Regions from separate parts of the Homo sapiens genome. Here all the other regions are linked to region 1. Evidence: promoter capture Hi-C in human tissues and cell types (Jung and others, 2019). All regions are on one chromosome and are shown on one strand. The core of a region is centred on a gene start or on the middle of the fragment in contact, and the rest is flanking DNA. Distances in the headings are between cores, read along the strand shown. Region 1 holds the start of PRKAG1 (protein kinase AMP-activated non-catalytic subunit gamma 1). Region 2 holds the start of RND1 (Rho family GTPase 1). Region 3 overlaps DDX23 (DEAD-box helicase 23).

What was found. Contacts are between HindIII fragments. The study calls those that stand out against the background at their distance.
Region 2: the fragment with the promoter of RND1 here is called in contact with the fragment with the promoter of PRKAG1 in region 1 in 1 of the 25 tissues and cell types used here (IMR-90 fibroblasts).
Region 3: a contact is called between a fragment that was not itself captured here and the fragment with the promoter of PRKAG1 in region 1, in 2 of the 25 tissues and cell types used here (H1 embryonic stem cells and lymphoblastoid cells).

Annotation. Positions count from the first base shown.
Region 1 is chr12:49,016,412-49,020,371 of GRCh38, reverse strand. It overlaps PRKAG1 (protein kinase AMP-activated non-catalytic subunit gamma 1), which reads left to right and starts at 1,596. Exons shown (of 12, transcript NM_002733.5): 1 at 1,596-1,640. The coding sequence starts at 1,632. It overlaps KMT2D (lysine methyltransferase 2D), which reads left to right. Exons shown (of 55, transcript NM_003482.4): 55 at 1-1,394. DDN-AS1 (DDN and PRKAG1 antisense RNA 1) reads right to left here. Exons shown (of 2, transcript NR_147179.1): 2 at 1,132-2,136. RefSeq lists enhancers at 1,193-1,392, 1,965-2,555. The HindIII fragment of the contact is 13,264 bases long and covers 1-3,960 here.
Region 2 is chr12:48,863,558-48,867,163 of GRCh38, reverse strand. It overlaps RND1 (Rho family GTPase 1), which reads left to right and starts at 1,294. Exons shown (of 5, transcript NM_014470.4): 1 at 1,294-1,516; 2 at 2,294-2,381. The coding sequence starts at 1,397. RefSeq lists enhancers at 971-1,100, 1,361-1,480. The HindIII fragment of the contact is 19,361 bases long and covers 1-3,606 here.
Region 3 is chr12:48,842,489-48,846,603 of GRCh38, reverse strand. DDX23 (DEAD-box helicase 23) reads left to right here. Exons shown (of 17, transcript NM_004818.3): 2 at 822-1,030; 3 at 2,554-2,664. The coding sequence starts at 822. Among named protein-coding and RNA genes, the nearest start is that of DDX23, 7.6 kb to the left of the region's middle. The HindIII fragment of the contact is 6,479 bases long and covers 1-4,115 here.

The DNA of each region.
Region 1 (3,960 bases), core at 347-2,846:
CGGACACATGGAGCTCCCCTTGTGGGGGGGCCCCCTCCATTACCCGACCTACCGCCCTTTTCCTCACCCCCCACCCCACTCCCCACCCCCTGGCTGTGACTGCTGTAAGATGGGGGTATAGAGGCTGGGCAATTCCCACCCCCTGTTGTATAGTTGGACTATGTTATAACGCACAAAAGAGAGCTGACCCCAGGGGGAGCCAGAGGGTGATGGGTTCCTTGCCTCCCTTTCCTTCCCCTTTCTGCCCAAGCTTGTGCTGCAGTTGAACCTCTTCCTGGGGGTGGGAGTAGGTAAGGGGTGGGTGAGGCCCCAAACCCCTCTCTGGTAGGGAACCGTGGGGATGAAGATGAAGCTTATATGCAGTTCTCTTCTAGGGGCTGTGGGCAAAGGGCATTTTGTAATTAATATTTTCAAGAATCAGATGTCTGGAGTGTAGGGGTGGGCTTGGTGGTGGTGGACGGGCGGGCCTGCTGGAGGGGGAGCTTGGTCGCTGTTGTGATTTTAGGTTTGTTTTTGTTTTGTTTTGAATTTGGGGGGTTGTGGATTGTTGGGGGTAGGGAGATTTTTTTTTTTTAAAGCTGCTTCCTCAACTGTTTCAAGCTGCAAATGTTTAAGAGAATAACAGCCCCCACTCCCACAGGAACCGCTGTAATTAAATCAGACAGTAGGAAGACTGGGCTGCTGCCCTCAAAGCCACAGCCCTTGGATGTTCCTTTTCCGAGAGCAGAAGGTCTAGGCTACAGGGAGGGGGAGATTGGCTCCCGTGAGTCAGGCTGTGTTTGGGGCTTGGGCCCTGGGATTGGGAAAAGGGGATGGGGCAGACTTTGTAAGCATATGCTAGGTATCCGATAGTCCTGTAGAATTTAGTGAAGAAACCTTATACAGTTTTTAATTTTTATATAAACTATAACTCAGACCCAAGCTACAAGGTTGGAATTTTGGTTGGTTTTTTTTTTAAGTACCCTGCCTGTATAATTGCATCAGAATCCCCCACCCCACCCCCCGCCCCCGTGTTTGTATTTTGGGTTGGTTTACACTCGCACATACTCAGTTTTCAGTTTTCCCCTTTACAGTCTTCTCCCCTCACCTCCAGGACCCTCCCCCTTTTTAAAAAATAAATCGCTGACAAGTGTGAATCCCGTGAAGACTTTATTTTGTGTTGTGTGTATCCTGTACAGCAAGGTTGGTCCTTCGTAACAACGGATGAAATGGTTCCCTTTTTTAAAGCGCCCTCTCTCCCTCCACCCTCAGCGCCCCTGTCCTTGGCATGTTTTGTATCAGCGATCATTCTGAACTGTACATATTTATGTTGCGAGAGGCAAAGGGCAAGTTTTGGATTTTGCTTCTTCCAAGTTTGTTTTTAAACGACAAATAAAAAAAGAACATTTTAAATACAAGCGGCTCCGTCCCATGACCCTCGCCGTCAGCCGGATCCGTGCGGTCCGCGAGGACCCGGGGGAGGGCGGTTACCGAGGCCCGCCACCGCCGGAAGGGTGGGTTCCTTGCCTTCCGCCCCAGTCTGGCGACTGCCATGACGTGGGCGGAAGTGGCGTCGCCGCACCGGATGTGGGGCGGGGCCTGCCCCAAGAGAGTTTCCTAAAGCGAGGAAACCAAGCCGGGCGCCTCTTGCAATGGAGACGGTGAGGAGTGCAGGAGGGCGGTCGGGGGCGCTGTGGAGCCTAAGACACCCCCCCAACCCTTAGGAGACCGGGAGGGCCGGGCAGGGGCTGGCGCTGGTGTCTAGCAAACAAAAAGCAGCCGGGTGTCTGCCCTATCCCGTGACCCTGTTCCTCCGCTTCTTCGTTGGGCGCATCTCCTGGAACTGGGCCGCGTCCCCGCCGCCTTTCCGTACGCGGTACCCTTAGCCCAAGCAGGCAGTGACTCCTGGCTCCCTCCTTGGGGCCCACGTATGCCGTGGCAATCTCGGGCCTCCTTTCCTATTGGCACCTCAAGCCCTTTTAGAGGTTTGAGAGCGCAGGGTTGTGAGCCGGCTTTGCTGGGTGAGGCACGGGGCGTCCAGAGGGATCTCCGCTTGCAGGTAGCTCCTGGACCTCGATGGTCTTTCTGTGATCCCTGCAATCCCCGGCAGGAGGACATCTGAAGATCTTTATACTGCGTCCAGTGAAGTCACATTCCCTTAATAAGACCGAGAATTGAGGTTTGCTTGAAAGAGGAAATCTTGCAGTGTTAGAGGCCGATGTGTCCCTGGACAATTTTAGGTCATGGCCCGCTCTGCGACTCTAAGCAGGGGTTTTGGCATAGCTCATTCTTGGCGAGCAGGCATTGACCAATTGTGGCAGGGCCCTGTCACCCTCCCACAGATGCTGCGGGTTGCCTGCTACATGTTTGCACCCACCCTCACTCTCAGGAGTCTTTTTCTAGCGCTCTGTAACCCCTCCCATACACTTCCCTCTCCACAGTTTTTAACCATGTGTCTTCTTTCAGGCAGAGTAACTCTTTCCATCTTGGTTTTTATCATCTGCTACTGTAGTTACGAAAGGACTGCAGGTTCACTTTGCTTTGGATTACATGCCCAGAGTAATTCTTTGCCACACCGTTTCTCTGCTCACAGAGAGGTTGTTTCTTTCAGGTTTTCAAAAAGAAAACCGACCAAAGTACTAAAATGATTCGCAGTTGGTCTCCCAGGCAAGGGAGCCAATTCTGACTAATCAGGATAATCTTAAACAAAAATAAGGAGTCTAATTCCATTAAATTTAAAATGACATGTCATATTCTACTTACTTGTAAATGTATTATGGTTTACAAAGCATTTTTATATAGATTTTCTAATTTAGCCTTTACACTTTATGTACTGGATTAGGCTCTGGGGTAGAAGTTAAAAAGAGGAAAAAGAAAACTCAGCCAGGTGTGGTGGCTCACGCCTGTAATGCCAGTACTTTGGGAGGCCAAGGCAAGTGGATTGCTTGAGCTCAGGAGTTCAGCATCAGCCTGGGCAACATGATGAAAGCCTGTCTCGACAGAAACAAAAATACAAAAATTACCCAGGCGTGGTGGTGGTGGTGTGTGCCTGTAGTCCCAGCTACTCGGGAGGCTCAGGTGGGAGGATCGCTTGATCCAAAGAGGTGGAGGCTGGAGTGAGCTGAGATCATGCCACTGCACTCCAGTCTGAGTGACACAGTGAGATCCTGTCTCCAAAAAAAAAGAAAAGAAAGAAAACTCCTGCTTTGAAAATGTTCAGCCTAACTGGAGTGATGGTGAGGGCAAGCCAGCAACAGCTGTTATTTAAAGGTAGACTATAATAAATGCTGTCATCAATATGAAAACAGAGGACTGTGACAGAATAGCTGAGAGAAAAATTACTTTGGACCTAGGAGAGGGCACTGCAAATTGAGAGAACAGTGTGAGCAAGGGCACTGAAATTGGGGTATGTAGAGAACTGGGGGTGAGCCAGCGGCATGATGTTGCTGGCTTTGGATTTTGGTCACAGTGGGAGAAAAGACTGGAAAAGCAGGCTAAGATCAGGTTGAAGGTATTACACACCATGCTAAATTTGAACTTTGTTTTGTAATAGGGGACCCATGGAAGATTTATGAGCAAGTCAGTGAATGTCCTTTAGGAATGTTCATAGCAGCTTTCTGTACATGGACTGAGCTACTTCGAAAAGTAAAGTTTCTTGTTAATGGGGATGAAAGTCCCTTCCAAATCTGAGATGCTTTGGTGAACAAACTTGGTGAAAGCATGAAAGATAAATTGAAGAACAGATAGATTTGGGCCAAGGACCCCAGTTTAAACAACGTTGCAGAGGTGAGAGGTAAAAGCCTAAATTAAGGCTGTGATATTGGCAATGAGAGAGATGGATCTGAGACATTTCTAACATACCAGCTTAGCTGATAAGTGTTAAGAAGACAGCTGTGCAAAACAAAAAAACAAGATGGGAACCACAGCGAGAATAATAGGATTGGAGGGACAAATGTTTTGTTTCGTATTCAAGCATTTGAG
Region 2 (3,606 bases), core at 45-2,544, 150 kb after region 1:
CCCCTAAGCAGCTTCTGCTAGGCATGGGTGAGAGGCTGTCTGGCCAAACAGTGACTGTGTTTGCTTTGTCTTCTTCCTCTCTCCCACCCCCACTTGCCAGAGTCCCTCATTTCTCTCTGCCCATCACTGGGTCAGGTGCTGTGTGTTTTTTTTATGGATGACTCTAGAAAGTTTTCTCTTTCTCTTTCTCTCTCTCTGTCTTTGGTGGTGAAGGTGATTCTTGAAGAAGAGAAGGCTTTAAAAGGGGCACAGGCCGGGCACGGTGGCTGACGCCTATAATCCCAGCACTTTGGGAGGCCAAGGCGGGCGGATCGCCTGAGGTCGGGAGTTCGAGACCAGCCTGACCAACATGGAGAAACCCCGTCTCTACTAAAAATACAACATTAGCTGGGCATGGTGGTGCATGCCTGTAATCCCAGCTACTCGGGAGGCTGAGGCAGGAGAATCGCTTGAATCCGGGAGATGGAGGTTGCAGTGAGCTGAGATCGTGCCATTGCACTCCAGCCTGGGCAACAAGAGCGAAACTCCATCTCAAAATAAATAAATAAATAAATAAATAAATAAATAAATAAATAAATAAATAAATAAAAGAGGTACAGCAGGAGCTGATATTGGGAGGGGAAATAAAGGGAAGTAAGAACTGGTTTGGATGGGAATTAGAAAAAACAAAAAAGTCAGACATCAGGCCAGGCGCTGTGGCTCATGTCTGTAGTCCCAGCACTTTGGGAGGCTGAGACAGGCGGATTGCTTGAGCCCAGAAGTTCAAGACCAGCCTGGATAACATGGTGAGACCCCTGTCTCTATTTAAAACAAAAGATGTAAGGAAAAAAAAGAAAAAAAATGTCAGAGAAGTTCTGGGCCACCTCCCCCATCCCCTACTCCTCCAAAACACACACACACACACACACCTGTCTATAGTCTAAGCAGGTCCTGCTTTTGTAACCCACCCGGGACAGTCCCTGCAACTCCAGCCTGACCTCACTTCCTGCTTCCATAGCTAGTTTGTTTTTCTGACACTTATTGGTAGACACTCCAGATCATTTCATTTTGCTTCCAGTACCCTTTCCACTTCCTAATACAAATGCAAAACAACCTGGGAATCCCCTTTCAGGGGGAAACAACGGTGCAGCTTTAAGAGAAAGAGAAGGGAGGAAGGGGGCGCTGACTCAGATCCTCAGATCCATTGGCTGCTGGAGGGAATCCCACCTCAGGGATTGGGCGTAACAGAGTCCGCCTCCTCTTGTGATTGGCTCAGCCAGAAAAATAAAAGGCGGCTGTGCCGGCCTCCTCCTCAGTTGGAGGGAGGCAGGGAATCTGGCTTGATTGGCGTGCTGAGACGCACCTGGCGCAACCCTCCCTTCTGAATCGAAGTTCAAGTCCCGCGGACACTGCAACCATGAAGGAGAGACGGGCCCCCCAGCCAGTCGTGGCCAGATGTAAGCTCGTTCTGGTCGGGGACGTGCAGTGTGGGAAGACCGCGATGTTGCAAGTGTTAGCGAAGGATTGCTATCCAGAGGTGAGCTGCCCGCCCGCCCGCTGGCCGGCTTTTCTCCCTGCCTGCCCGCCTTGGGGTAGATTTCCACCTGCTCAGGAGACGTGGCTCCCCCAGCCCCAGCCCATCCTCAGCCGCTTTCTGAGGCTTTACCATCCTCAGCTGCTTTTTGGCTGGAGGACTGCCCTGCCTTAGCTTCCCCTGAGACCTGTTCCACTTCTGCCGCCCCGCTGGCTCCTCCTCACCTCTTCACCCAGAGGACCCATCAGATCCCCTCCACCTTCCTGCGTCCCTGGAGTCTGCTCTCAGGTGAGGGCACTGGAGGCATTTGAAAGTCTGGGGTTTCTTCTTGACGTAATCCCTGCCTATCCGCTCACCTGCTCCTCAAAGGCTCTATGCCTGTGCCTTCAGGCAGGCTTCTGCAGCCCCTCTGTTCACCTGGCCGGGAGGGGTTTGAGAGGAGATGAGCTAGGATTGGCTTTGGCCTGTGGCTCTCTCAAATTGGGAAACACAAATCTGGGGATGGGAGGAATCTGTGTGTGTGTGTGTCCCTGATCGCCTAGGATATGGGGGGCTTACCCCTGGTGTGGTGGTGTGGGGGGGTGTCATTCACATTTCTCACTGCTGCAGAGCAAAGTGCCTGGTCCTCCACAGTCCCTTCCCTCCTGCCCCAGGCATCTCCTCTGGTTTCTTGTCTCCTGTGACTTTACTGTCTCTCTGGTGAGTGCGTGTGTAGCCAGCACTAACCAGGGGATCTGAGGGTAGGGGTGCATGGGGTGAATGTTTCCTCTCTTTTCACAGACCTATGTGCCCACCGTGTTCGAAAATTACACAGCCTGTTTGGAGACAGAGGAACAGAGGGTGGAGCTTAGTCTCTGGGATACCTCAGGTAAGAATTCTGCTCCAAATACCCCTTTCCCACCCCTACTGGTCTGCTGTGTAGCTGCTGTCTTTTAGAAATTGTTTTCCCCTTTGGTGGGGAGAAGTGAAAAAAGAGGATCTGAAGACTCATTAGTTGTGGGGAGGGCTGACAGTTGGTGGACTCAGTTGCATGGTCCAAGGGTGCAGAGTGGGTGAACCCCAGGAGCCACTCTCTTCCCTGGGTCTGGTTCCACCCTTTAGAGGGCTGGGATGGTGAGGTGAAGGGACCCATGAATAGTCCTGGGGGTGGGCAGTAAAACAGGACTTCTCCATTTCCATTCCCTACCACCCAACATGCACGCGTACACACATGCACACACACGCGCGCGCGCGCACACACACACACACACACACACACACACACACCTTTTACTTCCCCAGAGCAAAGCCAAATAAGAGGCAAGAGGCAGTGCTGCTGGAGGCAGCGTGGTTGGGGCGGAGAGACAAGTCTGCTTTGGGGAAAGGTTGCTCAGACTCAGTTTTGTCTCCTGCATTCCATCTTGGGCCACTGCTGTCCTCCTGCCGCAGCTCAGCCCCACTCGTCACACCGCTGCAGCTCGGGGATGAAGCAATGCATCATCGATGTTTTGGAAGTTGGGGGAGATGGCTTAATATAGGGCATAGTCAGTTGTGAATAGTGGCCGGCAGGGCAGAGGGGAGGTTGGCTCTGACTGTTTTCCCTCTACTGGGGTGAGGTAGAATATGCCCTGTCTCTCTAGAATGTAGAAACAATGTTTTTCCAGCCTCTCAGCCCCAAGCCCTTAGTGCTAGGCTATCCTTTGCCTTGATTCTGACCCCTTCCCATTATCTCTTTACCCCAGACCTTTTTCAATAGACTGGCTCAGAGTCATAATTAAGGAGTAAAAGCCGGGAATAAGAGAAAGAAAATAAAATCCACCCCTCCCCAAAAATGCATATTCAGGCTGAGTTTAAAAAGGGACCGTAAATCACTAGGTGTTTCCTGCTACATATAATAAATATGCTGTCCTGCTCCTTCAACAGCTGTTGTTCCCATGCTCTAATTCTGAGGTCTGAAAAGATTGGGGCTAGGGAATGGTTAGACAGACAATGAGCCTTTCCTCCCCAAACAAAAATTCCCCAATCTGGTATGCTTTTCCCTGTTGCAGTTTCAGGGCTTGGGAGGCAGCGTTCTGGTTCTCCTGGGCTGTGCTATGCTGGCAAGATTGGGCTAG
Region 3 (4,115 bases), core at 905-3,404, 170 kb after region 1:
CTTTTAATCTGAGTAAAAGTGTGTTTCTCCACTTAAATTCAGGTTTTCCTTGTGGTGCTAATTATAACGTAATCCAGATCTCAAAGTTAAACTTTTTTCTCCATTGAGCTTTCTTTATGAGCTCAAGAAAATTTATCTCTCTCAGACGTATGAGTGCTAACTGATCCTAGTGGGTTGGCAGACCTAATAAACTTCAAAGTAAGCAATATAGGATGTTTCTAGAAATAGTTGGTACACTGTTCATACACTAACACTTCTTTTAATACTCTTTTGTAGTCTAATTACAAAAACATGGTATATTCACTGTACATATTTAGAAATGAATATATAAAAAGGAATCGACCAGGCACTGTGGCTCACGCCTGTAATCTCAGCCTTTTAGAGGCTGAGGCAGGAGGATTGCTTGAGGTCAGGAATTTAAGACCAGCCTGGGCAGCATAGTGAGACCCTGTCTATAAAAAAAATAAATTAGCTAGGCAAGGCAGGAGGATGGCTTGAGCCCAGGAAGTTGAAGCTGCAGTGACCTATGATTGCACCACTGCACTCCAGCCTGGGTGACAGAGTGAGACTCTGAAAGGAATTACAGGGAGACAATATAGTGAGTAACGATGGCCTGTGGAGCCAGACTGCCTGCAACTCTGCCACTACCTGTCTGCCCTCAGACAAGTTCCTTTATATACCTGAGCTCCACCGTTCTCATCTGTACGGTAGACATACTAATATATCCACCTCATAGGGTTGTTTTGAGGGTAATTGAATTATATATAAGCAGTTTAGAGCAGTGCCTAGTACATTGTAAGTACTCTTCCTACTCATTACAGATGGCAGGAGAGCTGGCTGACAAAAAGGACCGTGATGCATCACCTTCCAAGGAGGAAAGGAAGCGATCACGGACTCCTGACAGAGAGCGGGATAGAGACCGGGACCGGAAGTCTTCCCCATCTAAAGATAGAAAGCGGCATCGTTCAAGGGATAGACGTCGAGGAGGCAGCCGTTCTCGCTCTCGTTCCCGTTCCAAATCTGCAGAAAGGTAAAGTAACTTTGTATGTTATTACATGGGAAGGGAGAGTACGTTTCAGATTTCTTCCTTCTTGGTTCTTCTGATGCCTCCAGTATTAGGCATCTACTTTTTATTTTTATTTTTTGAGACAGAGTCTCGCTCTGTTTGTTACCCAGACTGGAGTGCAGTGGTGCGATCTCAGCTCACTGCAAGCTCCGCCTCGCAGGTTCACGCCATTCTCCTGCCTCTGCCTCCTGAGTGCGTAGCTGGGACTACAGGCGCCCGACACCATGCCCGGCTAATGTTTTTGTATTTTTAGTAGAGATGAGGTTTCACCGTGTTAGCCAGGATGGTCTCGATCTCCTGACGTGATCTGCCTGCTTCAGCCTCCCCAAGTGCTGAGATTATAGGCGTGAGCCACCGCGCCTGGCCTTTTTTTTTTTTTTTTTAAAAGATGGAGTTTCACTCTTGTTTCCCAGGCTGGAGTGCAATGGCACGATCTCGGCTCACTGCAACCTCTGCCTCCCAGGTTCAAGCAATTCTCCTGCCTCAGCCTCCCGAATAGCTGGGATTACAGGCATGTGCCACCACACCTGGCTAATTTTGTACTTTTAGTAGAGACGGGGTTTCTCCACGTTGGTCAGGCTGATCTCAATCTTCCGACCTCAGGTGATCCACCCACCTCAGCTTCCCAAAGTGCTGGGATTACGGGCGTGAGCCACCACGCCCGGCTAGGCATCTACTTTTTGTACATTAATCTACTCCTAGCCCAGTTGGACCTGCAGGTGTTTTCAGTTTTCCTCAGTGACCCAACTCTTAAAAGTTGAGAGGGGGCCGGGCGCGGTTGGTTCACGCCTGTAATCCCAGCACTTTGGGAGGCCGAGGCAGGTGGATCACGAGGTCAGGAGATCGAGACCATCCTGGCTAACACAGTGATACCTGATCTCTACTAAAAATAAAAAAAAAAAAAGTTGAGAGGGAACTAGTAAGGTGAAGGTCCGGGTTATCAAGGAAGGTTCATCTGTGGCCGGGCGCGGTGGCTCATACCTATAATCCCAGCACTTTGGGAGGCCGAGGTAGGTGGATTACTTGAGGTGAGGAGTTTGAGAGCAGCCTGGCCAACATGGCAAAACCCCGTCTCTACTAAAAATACAAAAATTAGCCAGGCATGGTGGTGCACATCTGTAATCCCAGCTACTCGGGAGGCTGAGGCATGACAATTCCTTGAACTCGGGAGGCAGAGGCTGCAGTGAGCCGAGATCACACCACTGCACTCCAGCCTGGGCGTGAGAGTGAGACTCCATCTCAAAAAAATAAAAAAGGAAGGTTCATCTGTTCACATAGTCCGTGACCTGTCATTGCCGTTAATATTTAACAGTACATCTCTGATCTATAAAAGCTTCTTAGAATTCCCTCGTTATTTCCGTGAGAGATACATTCTCTAATTTGTAAAACATTACTTTGGGACGAGAGTATAGGAACTTTCTCAGGGCTGCAGTGAAGCAAGATACTTTGGAAATACCAAGTGAACTCTTAAATTTGCGGTCTTCCAGAGAACGACGGCACAAAGAACGAGAACGAGATAAGGAGCGGGATCGGAATAAGAAGGACCGAGATCGAGACAAGGATGGGCACAGACGGGACAAGGACCGTAAACGATCCAGGTACATGAAGGAATGAGAGGGGGCTTTAGGGGAATGCTCCCATTTCTTCTCTGCACCTGAGTTTGCTCAGCTTCTTATGAAAGTAGATTTCTCGCCAGGCGTGGTGGCTCACGCCTGTAATCCCAGCACTTTGGGAGGCTGAGGCTGGTGGATCACGAAGTCAGGAGATCGAGACCATCCTGGCTAACATGGTGAAACCCCGTCTCTACTAAATATACAAAAAATTAGCCGGGCGTGGTGGCGGGTGCCTGTAGTCCCAGCTACTCAGGAGGCTGAGGTAGGAGAATGGCGTGAACCCGGGAGGCGGAGCCTGCAGTGAGTCGAGATCACGCCACTGCACTCCAGCCTGGGCGACAGAGCAAGACTCTGTCTCAAAAAAAAAAAAAAAAAAAGAAAGAAAGAAAGTAGATTTCTCTTAACAGATTCTGTTGGTAGTTATTACAGAGCTCTCTTTCTTATTTATTTTTATTTATTTTTTTGAGGCAGGGTCTCTTTTGCCCAGGCTGGAGTGCAGTGGTGTGATCACAACTTACTGCAGCCTTGACTCCCCCAGGCTTAGGTGATCCACCCACCTCAGCCTCCTGAGTAGCTGGACTACAGGCATCTGCCACCAGATTTTGTTTTTTTTGGGTTTTTTTTTTTTTAATTGATCATTCTTGGGTGTTTCTTGCAGAGGGGGATTTGGCAGGGTCACAGGACAATAGTGGAGGGAAGGTCAGCAGATAAACAAGTGAACAAAGGTCTCTGGTTTTCCTAGGCAGAGGACCCTGCGGCCTTCCGCAGTGTTTGTGTCCCTGGGTACTTGAGATTAGGGAGTGGTGATGACTCTTAACGAGCATGCTGCCTTCAAGCATCTGTTTAACAAAGCACATCTTGCACCACCCTTAATCCATTCAACCCTGAGTGGACACAGCACATGTTTCAGAGAGCACAGGGTTGGGGGTAAGGTCACAGATCAACAGGATCCCAAGGCAGAAGAATTTTTCTTAGTACAGAACAAAATGAAAAGTCTCCCATGTCTACCTCTTTCTACACAGACACGGCAACCATCCGATTTCTCAATCTTTTCCCCACCTTTCCCGCCTTTCTATTCCACAAAACCGCCACTGTCATCATGGTCCGTTCTCAATGAGCTGTTGAGTACACCTCCCAGACGGGGTGGTGGGCGGGCAGAGGGGCTCCTCACTTCCCAGTAGGGGCGGCCGGGCAGAGGCGCCCCTCACCTCCTGGACGGGGCGGCTGGCCGGGCGGGGGGCTGACCCCCCCACCTCCCTCCCGGACGGGGCGGCTGGCCGGGCAGAGGGGCTCCTCACTTCCCAGTAGGGGCGGCCGGGCAGAGGCGCCCCTCACCTCCTGGACGGGGCGGCTGGCCGGGCGGGGGGCTGACCCCCCCACCTCCCTCCCGGACGGGGCGGCTGGCCGGGCGGGGGGCTGACCCCCCCACCTTCCTC